Linked DNA regions of Homo sapiens: region 2 is linked to region 1. Evidence: promoter capture Hi-C in 16 types of primary human blood cells and fetal thymus (Javierre and others, 2016). All regions are on one chromosome and are shown on one strand. The core of a region is centred on a gene start or on the middle of the fragment in contact, and the rest is flanking DNA. Distances in the headings are between cores, read along the strand shown. Region 1 holds the start of DSC1 (desmocollin 1). Region 2 holds the start of DSC3 (desmocollin 3).

Region 1 (7,175 bases), core at 3,022-5,521:
ATGAATAACTAACTAGTATTATTGAAATAACAATTTGAAACAGTAAGTTTAGTGGACATCTGTTGATTTGCTTGTCTAGTTACTTTTTATCCTTTTTTTCTGTCTAGCCTAGTGTTATCTTTGGGCAGTCACTTCTTCACCACTTTTTGCCCATGTGGTCAGGTCCACCACTTGACTTTAGGTTTATGTAAAAGATTCAGGCCAGAAGGATTGTGTTTTGCTCAAACTATTGGGAACAAGACATATTCTTTCAACAATGACTTGCTAAACCATTCATTGTTGAAATCCTGGAGGTTCTGGTGGTGATCTTTGCCTCCACACTGGGCAAAACTGAAATAATGAAACCAACACAAAAAAAGGCGGAGCTAAGAGATGGAGAGAATTTATGCTTAAATCTGAGTTAGGCTACCCCCAGCCTTCCAGTTACATGACCTAGCAAATCCTTTTGTCCTCAATAATTTTGTTTTGTTTTCTCTTAAGCCAGTTTGAGTTAGGTATGTGGGCTGAATAGAAAGAGTTCTGAACTACCCAGAGATGTGTGCTAATGTTTCTTTTCATAGGTTTGACAACAGTTTTGATAATAATGGGGAGTGATTATTTTATATAAAATTAATCACTATTCTACGCAAACAGCCTTAGGAAATCATTGTTAGTAATTATTAGTGCACATGAGTTACTTCTAAGTTTTAATAGCCCTTTACCCAGGCAAAAGACTGTGAGTCTAGTGAGATTGAAGGAGTTTCCACTGCAGTACACTGAACTCATGGGAGCCAAGCTTTTTTTTTTTTTTTTTTTAATAGCTAACAGTTCTTTTTCTTTGTTCATACACTTCACCCATACTAAACTCACAAACCCTTTTTTTACACCTGTAGTTTTTGGTATATTTAGTCATTCATATTTAACCCAAAGTGCCTTGTAATGGCTTCATCAATGTGTACAGCATTCCTACCAGTCTAGGAGTCTTTTAGAATAAATTAGGTCATCTTACAGAGATAATGGTTCTCTCTGTAAATGGCTTTTTTGAGGCCCTGAATTTATTCATAATGAGCCCTTTCTGTAAGTTGGTCATAAAAAAAATCTCTAATGAAATTTGTCACTGTATTTCCATAAAATATATTATTTAAATTTATAAAAAGGTGTTTTTCCTTGATGTGCCTTAAGGTTAAAAAAAAAAAAACTAAAGAAATACAAGAGTCATGTGGATCTTTACATTTAAATCTTTCTCTGTATGACCATAAATGTGTGGTAGAAAACAGATTATGCAATACTTATGTATTTAAAATAAAATATTTTCTTCTATAGGGGTTTCTCAACATTTAATCATTGTTCTTAATTTCTCTTTAAATGGCTAATATATTTAATATTTGCTGCAGTGCCTCTTTTTATCTTATCTTTTGAACTGGAAAGATAACTGCATGTTCTTCACCATAAAGTGTGCCTTTATTTTAACGTCATAAGATTTCTGTCTTCTTTTTTTCACCCTATATGATGCTTTTCTCCTAGCAAAGGCCAGAGCCCAGTATGTAACCCCTTAACTACTTGTTCAATGAATAAACCTATTCATGTATCTTTAGGTAGCCTCTACATAACAGACCTTGGATTTGCAATAACTTTGTGTTTGTTTCATTTGAAGTTCAGTCTCTTCAACTTTTTATTGCATGCCTAGGCAATTATATGGTGTAAAATATTAGTGCTTGCTCTGAGCCAGACACTGTTGGAAGTATTTTCTTTATAATATCACATTTAATCTTCATAACAACCTATGAATTAGCCACTATTATTGTCCCCATGTTATAAAGAGACCGAGGCACAGAAGAGTTAACTAACTTGCCTAGGGGTTATACTGCGAATAAGTAGTAAAGAGAGGATTTGCACCCAGGCAGTCTAGCTTCTAAGTCCAAGTTGTTAACCACTAACAATCTTTTGCTTAAGCTTATTAATTTAGACATAGGTTAAAACAAACAAACATACAGATAGAAATAAAAATAAAATAGAGCTTGCAGTGGTTTGAATGTCCCTGCCAAAAGTCATGTTGAAATTTTGTTGCCGTTGTAATGGTGTTAGGAGGTGGGACCTTTAAAAGTTGATTATGCCATGAAGTCCCCACCCTCGGGAGTGGGTTAGTTATCATCAGAGTGGACTTCTGATAACTGGATAAGTTAGGCCACTTCCCTGTCTGTCTTGTGCACTGGCTTCTGTCTTCTGCCTTCCATCATGGGATGACCCTCATCAGATGCCCATGCCATGCTCTTGGACTTTCCAGGCTCCTGAACCATGAACCAAACAAATTTCTGTTTTTGTTTTGTTTTGTTTTTTAATAAATTACCCAGGCTATGGTATTTCTTTACAGCAGCAGAAAACAGACTAAGACAGAGCTCTTACTGAATGATCTAATGCCAGAAAATTGGAAGAAATATGTCTTGTTTTCATTTAATTTTAAGGTAGATTCACGTTTAAGGAAGAGTCAATAATTTGTAATAATAAATTATTTTTTCCTATAAAGTGCCTATATTTTATTTTTAGGAAACCTTTGTGTGCAAATACAAAATATGGGAGAAATAGTAATGTAACAGATTTGCAAACCAATAATTTGGGGTTAGCTTTTACACAAGTTTTTCTATTACCTTTGAGAAAGATAGATAATGGGAAAAGAGAGCACGCAGAAAGTAGGCCAAAAGAAGTAGGATCAGAACATCAACTTCCCAGAACTGTGGAGAGTATTCTGGATTCATTTGAATTGAGCAGTGCCTGGAATCTCTTCATCCAACCAATATATGCCATTTTTTCAGTAACACCAATTTAATTTTGCTCTTCTATATCTTCCTAGTTCAGTGGAGAATATCATGTTATAGAAAAAGGTAATGATAACTTCATTAGCTGAAAAAAATGTGTTTCTATTTTCTAGGGTTGGAGAATTTGTCTTTGAATTATTTAAGCTGTATGACTATCTATTTATCTGTCTATCTATCTATCTAAATATATACTTAGATGATGCTTAAACATGCACAGAATTACACTTGGCTGTACACATATACATCTAAGTAATTTTTCTATTTCTATATTCCCATTCTTTTCTCCCAAAACGCCAGATATAAAAATATTCCATTAAAATGACTGTATTTTCTGATTGAGAAATCAAATTCCAATGCAGTCACAAAATATGTTTATTAGTGGGTATACCACTAGCAATAAAATACTACAAGATATCTTTTAGTTTTTTTTCTCCTGGGTCATTCATTTTCCAAATCTTCCTAGCTTCTAATTCTAATGAAGCAGTTACATTTATTTCTGTCTCTACATACAAGGAGAAATTGTTCCCATTGTCAAATAAGCTGAAGAAAACCTTTCTTTCCTCCCTTCTCAGCAGCATGGGTGTTGGGCTCTACCTTAACATTTGAAAATATTTATCCTTCTGTCCTAACTTCCATCACTGCCATTGAGTGCAATTGGTATCACTGAGCTCACTAATTTGGGACAGGAATAATGATGCTAAAGCTCTTGTTAGAGGAATCATTAGGGTTTAAAAAAATCTACACTTGATGGCCTGATTGTACTATTAAGCTAGGATATCCTATGTGTAATGTACAAGTAATTAGGGTGAATAGAGTGATTTTAGAGAGACTTGCTCTCAAAGATTGTAGTTGTCCTTGAAAAAATATAAAGGTAAAAAGCAGTGGCATCTTGTACAACAAAAGGAAAGCCACAAGAAAGATTATATGCTAGCTATTTCTTTATTCTCTTTCTTTTATGAAGTCTTTACATTCTGATAAGTTTCCTGTGACATCTAGAGAACCAACCACAGTGAATAGTCAATAACAGGAAGTAGATACCATGCCTTTATGAAGTTGCTGCTTTAAACTGGAATGCCAGTTCTCTAGCAGAACTACAGTGTTCTACAGGACCGATGACACTTAAATGCTTAGATGGGAGATAACTTCTGATGAGTGTGATTACACACGCTTAGGTCCTCTGATTTGCCAATGGCAGTTGAGGAGGCATCACTTCCTTGCATGGCGTTTGTGCACAATTTATGTTTGTACCCGAGGGCAAGACAGGTTAATAAGGCCAAGAAGGAGGGGAGGCTGTGGGAGTGGGTAATAACTGGGGAGGACTTCACAGCATCAACCTGGGGGAAAGGGAGGAGGGCTGAGGATGAAGGGTGTTCCCTCCTCCTTCTGCCTATGTGTTAAGTGGCAAGAGAAATTTTGAAAGCTGCTGTGAGGAGGAGCTACTGACTGGGTTTTGGGGTGTTTTGTACCCCACCCTCCTCACTTGTAGGAAAGCCTCTTTGCATTTAGACGTAATTGAACTGGAAGGAAGGAGACTGGCCAGGGAATAGGGGGAAAGAAATTCTCCCGTTGCTCCTCCTACTGTTTATCACTTGCCTCCGGACTGTCTTCCAAACCAAGCTCAGCTGCATCAAGGTGGCAGCAGAATACCCTGTGCAAGTGCCAGCGTCTTCTTAGCCGCTCTGTGCATCCCAGGCTGCCCTGTTATCTGGCCACCGTCCCTGGCCATTGGGACTGCTTCTGATGGCTCTGGCCTCTGCTGCCCCAGGGAGCATCTTCTGTAAGCAGCTCCTTTTCTCTCTCCTGGTGAGTAACAACCAAAGGATTAGGGAATTCAAGCATGTTACTACCTGCTTCCTCTCTGCAGTTTGGGCTTGAAAGAGACTAGGAGTGAGGATGGGAGGCAGAGAAGAGAGATTGGGGAAAACAAAAGCAGATCTGAGGAAGATTCAGGGAAGAGTTGAGAGGCTTGGGATTCAGGATGGAAAGTGTTCAGCTTACTTCTCAAGCACCCACTGCCAGAGTGTTAAAAGTTTTCAAGGGAATCCCTCTTCCATCCTGCTGTGGTGATTTTCTAAGAGTAGAGAAGTGAATTCATTCTTTAGGCATTTGGCCCAGAAGTTTCTGAGGTTTACTTCTGCTACCAGTGATTACATAAACTCATGTTATTTAACATGCTGAGTTCTACTAAGCTGCAAAAAAAGAGAAAGGATTCTGGGTGAACATGCAAATTATCCAGGACTTTTTGAATTTTACCCACGAAGCAGTTTAAGCAAAGAATAGTTTAAGAAAAATAACAAAAATGTGACTGTCATTGAAAATATCCTCAACTTGGCTTCCACTTGGGTTTTTAATAGCTTTGTAACTGTGTAAGGTGCTATTTTTTCTTTGGAGGTGAGGGAAGAGAGGGGGGTTATTTCACACATCCGTCCATCATTTCTGAGGTGTGAGTTTCCTATTTTTTCATTTTAGCAAAATACTTGAGTTTCAAAATATATTTTTAGAAATGGCAGGTATGAGGACAAACATTTTCTCCATGTAAATAATATACAATGCAGGGTTGATGGTCACCTTCTCATCCTGTAACTGCTTAGGGAGACGATAACTCAGATACCATCTTAAGTTAGTACAAGTTTGGTAAAATGTGGTAAAAATGTTTCAAAGGATTCTACCCACATTTCTTTTGCTTCTGATCCCTGTACTGTCTAATATCTCTTGGACAATTCATCTCCTGTTTATTTATTTCTGACTCTGAAACTGACTAAAAGGGTGTCACTAAGCCACTTAGTCAGTGATTTAACCTGAAGACGGGAATAGTATTTAATGAATGGAAACCTTCAGTGGCTCTGCCTGCAGAGGGAGGACCATCAACATGGAATCCTAGGACAAGAAGGAAAGAAGATGGGGGTGGGAGTGGAAGTGTGGATATAACTATAAGAATGTCTCATATATTTATATATATATATGTACATTTATATATATATACACACACGCACATATACAGTCATGCTCTGCAAAACAATGCCTCAGTCAATGATGGACTACATATATGAGTGGTCCCATAGATTATAATGGAGCTCGTCTGTATAGGTGAACCATTTTTTATCTTTTATATTGTATTTTAATGTACTTTTTCTATATCTAAAAATGTTTAGTTACACAAATACTTACAATTGCCTACAGTATTCAGTAGAGGAACATGCTGTACAGGTTTGTAGCTTACAATAAGCTATACTATATACTATACACCTAGGCTGTACCATGGTGCATACCATGGGGCATACATATATAAATCATGGTGTATACCATGTAGGTATAACCCAGGTGTGTAGTAGACTATATCCTCTAAGTGTATGTAAGTATACTCTATGATGTCTGCACAAGGATGAAATCACCTAACGTTGCATTTCTTAGAATGTAAGCAATATATGACTGTGTGTATATATATACACACATACACATACATATATAGGTATAGGTATATGTACAGGTATATGCATATGTATGTGTACATATGTATATGTATGTGTTTATGCATAGCCTAATTACAATATGCTGTTTCCACATTGTATACTTAGACAACTATTAACAGTATGGTCTATGCTTAGAAAGTTCTTTAAGTATAATTTATTATGTTCCTTGGCATTAGGGATGAACATATTTAAAAAGTTAAATAAATACGAATGTCTCACGTTTTAAAAAGTGGTTTTTAAATTAGGACTAAATAAAAATGTGGCCTTTTAATTCCAGATTTCTGCCTAACATAGATTTTTGTAAAATTACAAACTATTTAATTAGACTGCTACAGTATATCTGGTAGACTTGAGATGAGCTGGAAAAGAAGTGCACATCCTTAATATGGATGTTAATCCATTCTCTTTCCTCCTCGCAAGTAATGGGTCCCGTAACTCTAGAATTCAGAGAAAAGCTGAAAGCTGATCATAAAATTGACCTACATGTTTCTGGAAAACCTAGCTCTACTCTATCTTATATTTAAATAATAAAAAAGCAGTTATTTTGATAAAGAGGAACAAACAGAAAATGCCAAGAAAAAGAAGTAAAATATATTTTGAACCTATAGACATTTTTGAAATGATAGCTTTTCTTTTGTTTTTTTCAGATAGTGTCTATGTCTTTGAACTACCTAGGTTTTAAAAACAATAGCTGGGCCTTGAATTTAATTAAAAATCTTCACCCATCTGAAGGATACTCTCCATATTTTGACATATATTTCTTTTTAGATTAGTCATGTGATTTGAGATCATTTAGATTTTGGCGTTTTGGCCAAGTCAGTCACAAAATTGATTTGAGAACAATGATTTTTTGGGGGCATTATTTTTCTGTGAGGTTAAAAAAGCCCTTAACTATTTTCTAGACTTCATCAAC
Region 2 (7,268 bases), core at 4,001-6,500, 120 kb after region 1:
ATATATGTATTCTGAAACTTAAAAAAATATTATTACTTCAGGGACACAGCAGGACAATTTTTGTCAGAGAGTCTCATTTGAAAAGTGAAGGATTATAGTAAGTTCGTGGCTTTCCTTGGCCATTGTCTAAACAGAACTTGGAAACAGGGAGAAATAACCAATTTTATTGAACTTGTCAAGAACGCTGCAATCTTACTAGGAGGGGGAACAAAACAACCTTTTTGATACATGCGTACACACCTGCTAGGATTATTACTAGCTACTCAGTTTTTAAATGTTCAGGCAAGACCTCTGTATTAGAGTTGTTTAGAGAAACAGAGATCTGGTATAACCCGTCATAGATGTGTGTAAGTCAAGACTAGTGCTTATCAGTTAGGGAGGGGTGTAGCTTATAACATTTGAAAGACAGATGCAGATATGAGCCTTGAAAGCAATGCAAGAAAAGAACTGGTTATTGTTGTGGGATTGCGCCTACTCAATGAACACTAAATAGCTAATTAGTAGAAAGCTACCCCTCATCTAGAGACAAAAGGCTTGGGAAACTGGGCAGGCTGAAAAGAAAAGACAAATCAAGATGAACAAATCTTGAGGTAAATAGCATTAATTAATATGTAATTATGAACAAATAAAATAATAAATGACTGTTGAGTTAAACAATTTGCTAGCCTATGGGGAGCTGGTGGCAAAAGCTGCCTCTCTGCTCCAGAGCTAGTTAATAGGCATCTAAGCTGGGGGATACACCACTTCTCCAGGCTGATGTTAAGGAATGGTCATCCTGAACTTCTGAGTAAAAAGAAGACTGATGGGGCAATGTATCAGGGAATGACTCTGGGATCAATGACACATGAGGTCTGGCAGTCAGCCCATTCACACCTGTAACCTTCACTCTTGAGCAATGCCTTTTGAACAGACAGATGCATAGAGTGAGTTCCTGGAGACATGTGAACATACAGGAGAAACTGTAGTCTCATCCAGTGGAAAGAGATTTTTCACACTAGAGGAAATCAAAGTGAAGAATTATGTGATGATTCTGAGATGAGGTGGACAAAAAGTTCACCCTGTATCAGGGCTTTGTTACATGGCTTTAGTTTAGTTGCTATAAGAAGTTATCACTCACACAATAGGGTTTTGTCTTTTGTGTGGAAATTACCATTCCTTCCAGCCAGTGGGAAGTTACTGGAAGATTGCTCCTCCCTCCTTAAAAGGACTGGTTGAAGAAGAGGATATTTGTAAAGGAGTCTGAAGATTTTAGTGGAGGAAGAGTAACCCCATTGTAAGAGATCTTGACTCATTAATTAACAAGGAGATACTGGAAGGGAACTTTTCTGAGCTTGGCACACCCTATTTGGATTAAACTATTGTAATAGTGTTACTTAGACTGGATAATGCTGAATTTGAGAAATGTACAAATGTCCGACTTTTGAATGATTGTTGCCAAGGTTATAGTGAAAGGTCACATTTCTGTGGATGGGCGTGAGCTTTCTCCTGAGAGGAAGGGATAGTCCTACTGTCAGTCATTCTGGGGAGATATGAATCCTAGGATGAGAAGTGAGGACGTGAGGAGACCCACAGCAGAACAGGGGGAAGGGGAAATGTCCTTGGAGGCCAAGGGTCATTTGGATCTAGAGTTGAGGTCCTCATTGCTGTGTGGAGTAGCATTCTCATTGGATTGAAATTAGCACCAAGTGCTAATTAGGTGCTTGCCATGGGTAAATAGGTGAGAAGGAGGCACATAGGGATTCTGGGACGGCTCTGGTAGTGGGCAGCAATGCGATATTTATAATTGACTTTTGACTTAAACCTTCTGTTATCCTCAAGGCCCCAGCAGTCTTTTGAAATGACCAAAATGTGGTGGCTGTTCTCAATAGTGCTCTGGGAAATCTGCAGAACCTCTAGTCACACTGCGGCTATTTATCCTAAATAATATTCCAAACATGCTTCTGAGTTCATGTCCCATGGCGGAACTCATTTTTGTGCCACAGGTGTAAACAAATCTTTTACTTGTTTTTAATTCAAGCTTTTTTTTTCATAAATTCCTCTGCTCTTTCTCGTAAGTTTGTCTCAAACATTGTACAGTTGTCCTGGCGGTATTTCGTAGGAGTGTTTGAGGAAACCTACAGTTGCCATGTCACCGTCCAGGTAAGCCACTGAGATGAGTAGGTGTGTTAGACTAGCACCTGTTGGTGCTGAGTTGTGCAAGGCAGCCTGGCTCGTGGGCCAGAGGTCAGGTCCCACCTCCTAAGACTAGTTAGCTCTTCCGTAGTCAGAGATTTCTCATAGGTCCAGAGTAAGAGTACTCTTCTTCATTATCTTGTTTGCTTTCTGCTGAAAATGTTGCAATTCACCTGAATTTCTGAAGTTTTGTTCTTTAGTCTAAAGTCAATTCCCATTTTTGATCCTTTGTTATTGCTGCTCTTACCCTTCAAACTAAGAACATAACAAGGGAAAATAATAAATTATTTTCCCATTTTGGCTCATTATCCTTTTAGCAGTGACTTCCAACTGACTTTGCAGTTTGAGGGATAGGGTATTAAGATAAAGACAGTTCAGAAAACTCTTTATGCTTTATGATACCTCATGATGATTTAAAATTAATTTTATAATAGAAAGCATCCAGTTCTAACTATATCTAAACTGAAGCTCATATTTGAAAAAAAATCAACAAACTATTTTAAATCATAATTTATATGGGAAAATATAAGCAAAAAATATAAGCAATTTAATTTATCCTCAAGTCATATTTATGTTGTAAAGATTCTTCTTTATATGATAAAAATGCATTGCTTTTTATTAGGACTTAGATTAATATACTCATGGTGGACAAACAGGAAATTCCAAAATCATTACTAATACTACATTCAGTTATTAATGTTCGTATTGCACCTAGAATTTTGCAATACAAGTTAAAAATATCCATAATATGTTTTCTTCGAGTTTTTCTAAAGCAGATTCCTACAACTTTTATTTTGCGGAAGCTAAAAATGGAAGCTCACAGCAATTGTCATATTAGTCAGTAGGCTTAACAATAAATATCCTCTATTACACAGCACAGTCAAAATAATCAGGGGATAGCAATTTTAGAGTTTTAGTCTTTCAAAGGACAGTCCTAACCAGGCCAGACTCTCATAAATCTGAAGATAGAGTTGAAATCATAGAAAAACTAAGAATAGTTAGAATAAAGACAAACACTTCAAAGTCTTTCATTCCCTAGGTATTAAAGAAAGCCATATTACAGCACAAATGGGTTCATATGTGCAAACTCACCAAAAGTGACAATTTTGTAACAGTAGTTACTAACCCTTTTCACACATTGAATGGATGGTTCTCCATTTCTGTCAGGATGAAATTAAATTCCTCAGCATGGTTTGTCATGAACCATCTTTCTAACCGAATTCCCAGCCATTGCATGTAACCATTCTGAACCAACCCCTTTCTGCTTTCTTACCCTGGGGCACTCTCACAAGGCTCTCCAGAGCTTCTCATGTCCTGTTGATGTTGTGTTATCTTGAAGCATTCTCCTACCCTTTCCCTTTTCTTTGCTGGGCTTATCGCAACATTTTGCTTCTTCAAAGCTTTCTTCAGCTAAGTTAGATCCTCTCCTCTAAAATGCCTTAACACCTCAACCCTTCACTCTAACAGTGAATTCAAAGTGGTGAGGGAGGGAGATTGGTGCTAGCCATCTCCTTTACTCATCTAAGTTCAAGAAAACCATTCTACTTGAGTTTCTGAGGGCTGGGGGGCTGGAAGTGACTTTGAGAAGCTTTCTCTGAGGTCATGCTGGAGGCACGTGGAGGATGGGAGGTGAAAACCCTGGAGTGGAGAGAAGTTTGGAGAACTTTCTCTGAGACTGGAAGAGCTCTTACATACAGAGACCTCCACTGACGGGTGCCTGGGAGATTCACACTGGGAAGCTCAACTTAGAGTGTCTGAGCCCTTAAAGCTGAGCCTCATGAGTTTCAGGGAAGCCCCAGACTTCAGGGAATACATGGCTTAGACGACGAGGAGTCTATTAGACTTGAGCCAGAGTGAGATGAATGAAGGTCATAACACCCTTTCATGATTAATTGGCTGTCTGAAATTCCCGACCTTGCAACTTTTGAATGGACTTCGAGGAGTAGCATCTCATGTCTGAGAGGGATTTCCTCCTGAATCCAGTAGATGGGAACTCGGGGAACTTAAAATTCAGTTTAGGGAGAAATAAGAGGATGTCCCCCTGGTGTTACAAACGACATCTCTATTAAAAAGTGTAGCCTACTGGGCTAGGAATGATTGTCTTTCGTCCCTTTCTGACTTTGAATTATTTCCGACAGGAACTAGATTTTCTGCATTTCCTTTCTTCCATGCCCTCACACAAAGCTTGGCCGACTTCGGGCCCTGATAAATAGTCGTTGCATGATGTAGAATCTGTAAGCCTCGTTTTAGAAGGTTTTGTGTGGTAGATATTCCTTTGACCACCTGAAAAATTTCATTTTGGTACCAGTAAGTAGTAAACCAATAATTCACATCTAAGAACAAAGTCGTTTTTAGAAGGTTCATATGAGTCCCCCAAACTGACAGTTAATAGAGCGCTGAGTGTAATCACTCATATTTTGGGTGCGTAAAAATGGTTAGATTAGAATTTCTTAAATTTGGTTTTAATTTCTGACATGCCAAAAACTGTTTATCATGCCATCTGGGATAAATTCCTTCTGTCGTGTATTTTGTCATGTTAGTCAAATCCGGAGAGAATACAGTACATGTATTTTGCTTTAATCTGAAAACATTGGCAGAATTTGTTCAGACGTCGAAGGGGAGATCCGCTGATCCAATGACAAGGGTGTTCCTGGCATCCAGCAGAGCCCGTGTCGAGGCAGGGATCCCTGCGGGCGGATTGGGGTTCTGCATTGAGATGCACCGCGCAGCGCCGGCGATGGGGCCGCCCTGGGACGATCTGGGCTGCCAGGGCCTCTCTGCGGGCCGGGCGGGGCGGCAGCGCCGCGGGGCAGCCGAGGGGCGTGGGAGAACTGGCAGAGGGTGCGCCAGAGACCGCTTTCCCGAGCGCGAACGCCCGGGTGGCTGCTGGGGAGCAGAGGGGCAGGCTCGGGCAGCTCCTCAGCCGCGCCGGCGATGATAAAACTTGAGAAATAACAAGGAGTGGCCTCTCCGCGTCCTCTGGGTCCAATCCGGTTTCAGAAGTGAAGTTGCTCCCGGGCAGGCAAGCCTGAGAGAGGCCAAATACACTTAAAAACAAGCAGCGGCGAGAAAAGCACCTCCCGCGCCCTGCACCTCGGCAGGTCTCGCTCTCGGCACCCTCCCGGCGCCCGCGTTCTCCTGGCCCTGCCCGGCATCCCGATGGCCGCCGCTGGGCCCCGGCGCTCCGTGCGCGGAGCCGTCTGCCTGCATCTGCTGCTGACCCTCGTGGTAAGCCAGATCTCGCCGGATAGGGCTGGGGTGGGGACGGGGGTGGATCCGCCCTGGACGCTGCACGGAGCTGGGGACAAAGCGGGCCGAAACGTGACAACCGCGGCTCAGATCAATGCTGCGGGTCTGGTAGCAGCCCCAAGTTCGGGCCTGCAGGAGTGAGGAGAGAAAACGTGTGTTTGCGGGTCGACTCTGGACTGAGCTTTTTGTTTTGAGACAAGGTGTTCGATTGTTGGAATTCTGAGTCGCGCTCAGGCTTCGCTGCGCTCTGGCGGGCGCCGTCGCGGGTTGGGCAGGGGGTTGGGATTCACGCTTCTCCCCAGGTGGTGGAGCTGGTGGTGATGGTGGTTGGAGGGCGCCTTTGGGTGGAGAGGATCCCTGAGAGCTCAAAGCACAGACTTGAAAAGGGATTTAGGGGCTGCCCCCTCCCCAGCTCTGGGTCGCAGTTGACCCGGATTGGTTCGTTAGTGAGTGGAGCCGGGGCTGTGTCCCTGGGTCCCTTGGTGGGGCTGCCCCTGAGAAGTGGGTTTCTCGGTATCTCCCCTAAAGGGTATTCAGAAGCTCACCCAAGCGGTCCACCCCCGCCAGCCACCCAGCTGGGGGCGGGATGTGCCGGGGGCGCGAAAGTGTGGGAAGACCGGGCCAGAATGGGGGTTGGGGTCGTGTTGTGTTTTGGGGATGCTGCCGAGGTGTGGAGGCGGGTAGAGGGTGACAGTGGTGGGGGATGATGGATGCGGTGGGGTTGCGTCGTACTTACTCCGGCTCCGGGGAGGACTGCGCGGCCGGAGCACAGCCTGGGGTTTCGAGTCTACGGAAACCTGCCGCCCAGGACGAAATCCTCTAGGAGAGGAAGTTAGAGACGATGCTCTGAGAACACGGGAGACTTGAAGTGTTCGGAACTCTGGCGGCGCGGTTACACGCGAAGCTTCAGGCTTCAACAGAGTTTCATTCCGCACGCCCAGAAAGGAGCCGCGGACCCGCGACTTACCCGCATCCATGGATGCGCATGGGGTCCGATGGGAGCGAGGTCTATACCCGCGTCGGCAGTGAGCCGAGTCTGGTCTCGCGGATTCTTACTGCTTCCTGGCCCTCCACCCTGGCAAGTGGGAGTGGGTCCAAGGGTTGTCCTCCCTTAAGGTCAGCGAGGTATGAATATGGGATTGGTAGTTATGATCTACGATATGTTTATGGAGAAGGAATTGGACAAATAAGCGCATCCATTTGCCCGGGAACTGTTCCAACAAAGTATCTGAGCTTATGAAGTGACTACAAATGGAAACGGCTTAGAGAATGTGTTCTTTTGTAATATATTTAAAAGCATTTTCAGCTTTTCAGTTTACAAGCATGCATTTGGGGTTTTGTGTTTCCTTTGCGAAGGGATTGAGGATGGGGAACGAAACTACGGGTGCTGCTCTCAGAATTTCTCGCATTCGCTCGAGGCTCCCAGAGGCCATGGAAGACCAGGAGCTTTCCCGGCAAGGCATGGGTGGGGGTGTCGAGCTGTGGCAAGGAAGAAGGTGCGCGTAAATCTAAACGGAGGAAGCTTCAGCTTTGATCTAGCACATACTCGTTTAAGATTTTTTTTTTTTAAAATAATTCCGTTGAGTTTAGGTTAAATGCTGTATCTGGAGACTTAAATACCGGAAAGTGCACAGAAAATGACTATTTCATCTGCAATTGTCAGTTTACAAACACTTGCAATTTCGGACCGGATGGGTAAATTAACACTTCTCTTGACCATCTCATGTATGTATTTCCTTCCTTTTGACTCATACGACTCTCAACTTTTCAATATAATATTAATGACACGGCATTTTAGAAACATTTTTCATTTTATAGAGACTTTAATGGATATCTTTAAACCATTA

What was found. The method cuts DNA at HindIII sites, captures the fragments that hold promoters and counts their contacts. A CHiCAGO score of 5 or more calls a contact.
Region 2: a contact is called between the fragment with the promoter of DSC3 here and the fragment with the promoter of DSC1 in region 1, in 1 of 17 cell types (neutrophils). The highest score is 6.4, in neutrophils.

The regions. Positions count from the first base shown.
Region 1 is chr18:31,159,952-31,167,126 of GRCh38, reverse strand. It overlaps DSC1 (desmocollin 1), which reads left to right and starts at 4,271. Exons shown (of 16, transcript NM_024421.2): 1 at 4,271-4,595. The coding sequence starts at 4,533. DSCAS (DSC1/DSC2 antisense RNA) reads right to left here. Exons shown (of 4, transcript NR_110785.1): 4 at 4,338-4,592. RefSeq lists an enhancer at 1-247. The HindIII fragment of the contact is 8,252 bases long and covers 1,935-7,175 here.
Region 2 is chr18:31,040,724-31,047,991 of GRCh38, reverse strand. It overlaps DSC3 (desmocollin 3), which reads left to right and starts at 5,250. Exons shown (of 16, transcript NM_001941.5): 1 at 5,250-5,400. The coding sequence starts at 5,332. LOC124904345 (a long non-coding RNA gene) reads right to left here and starts at 6,459. Exons shown (of 2, transcript XR_007066445.1): 1 at 6,158-6,459; 2 at 2,766-5,550. The HindIII fragment of the contact is 1,969 bases long and covers 4,359-6,327 here.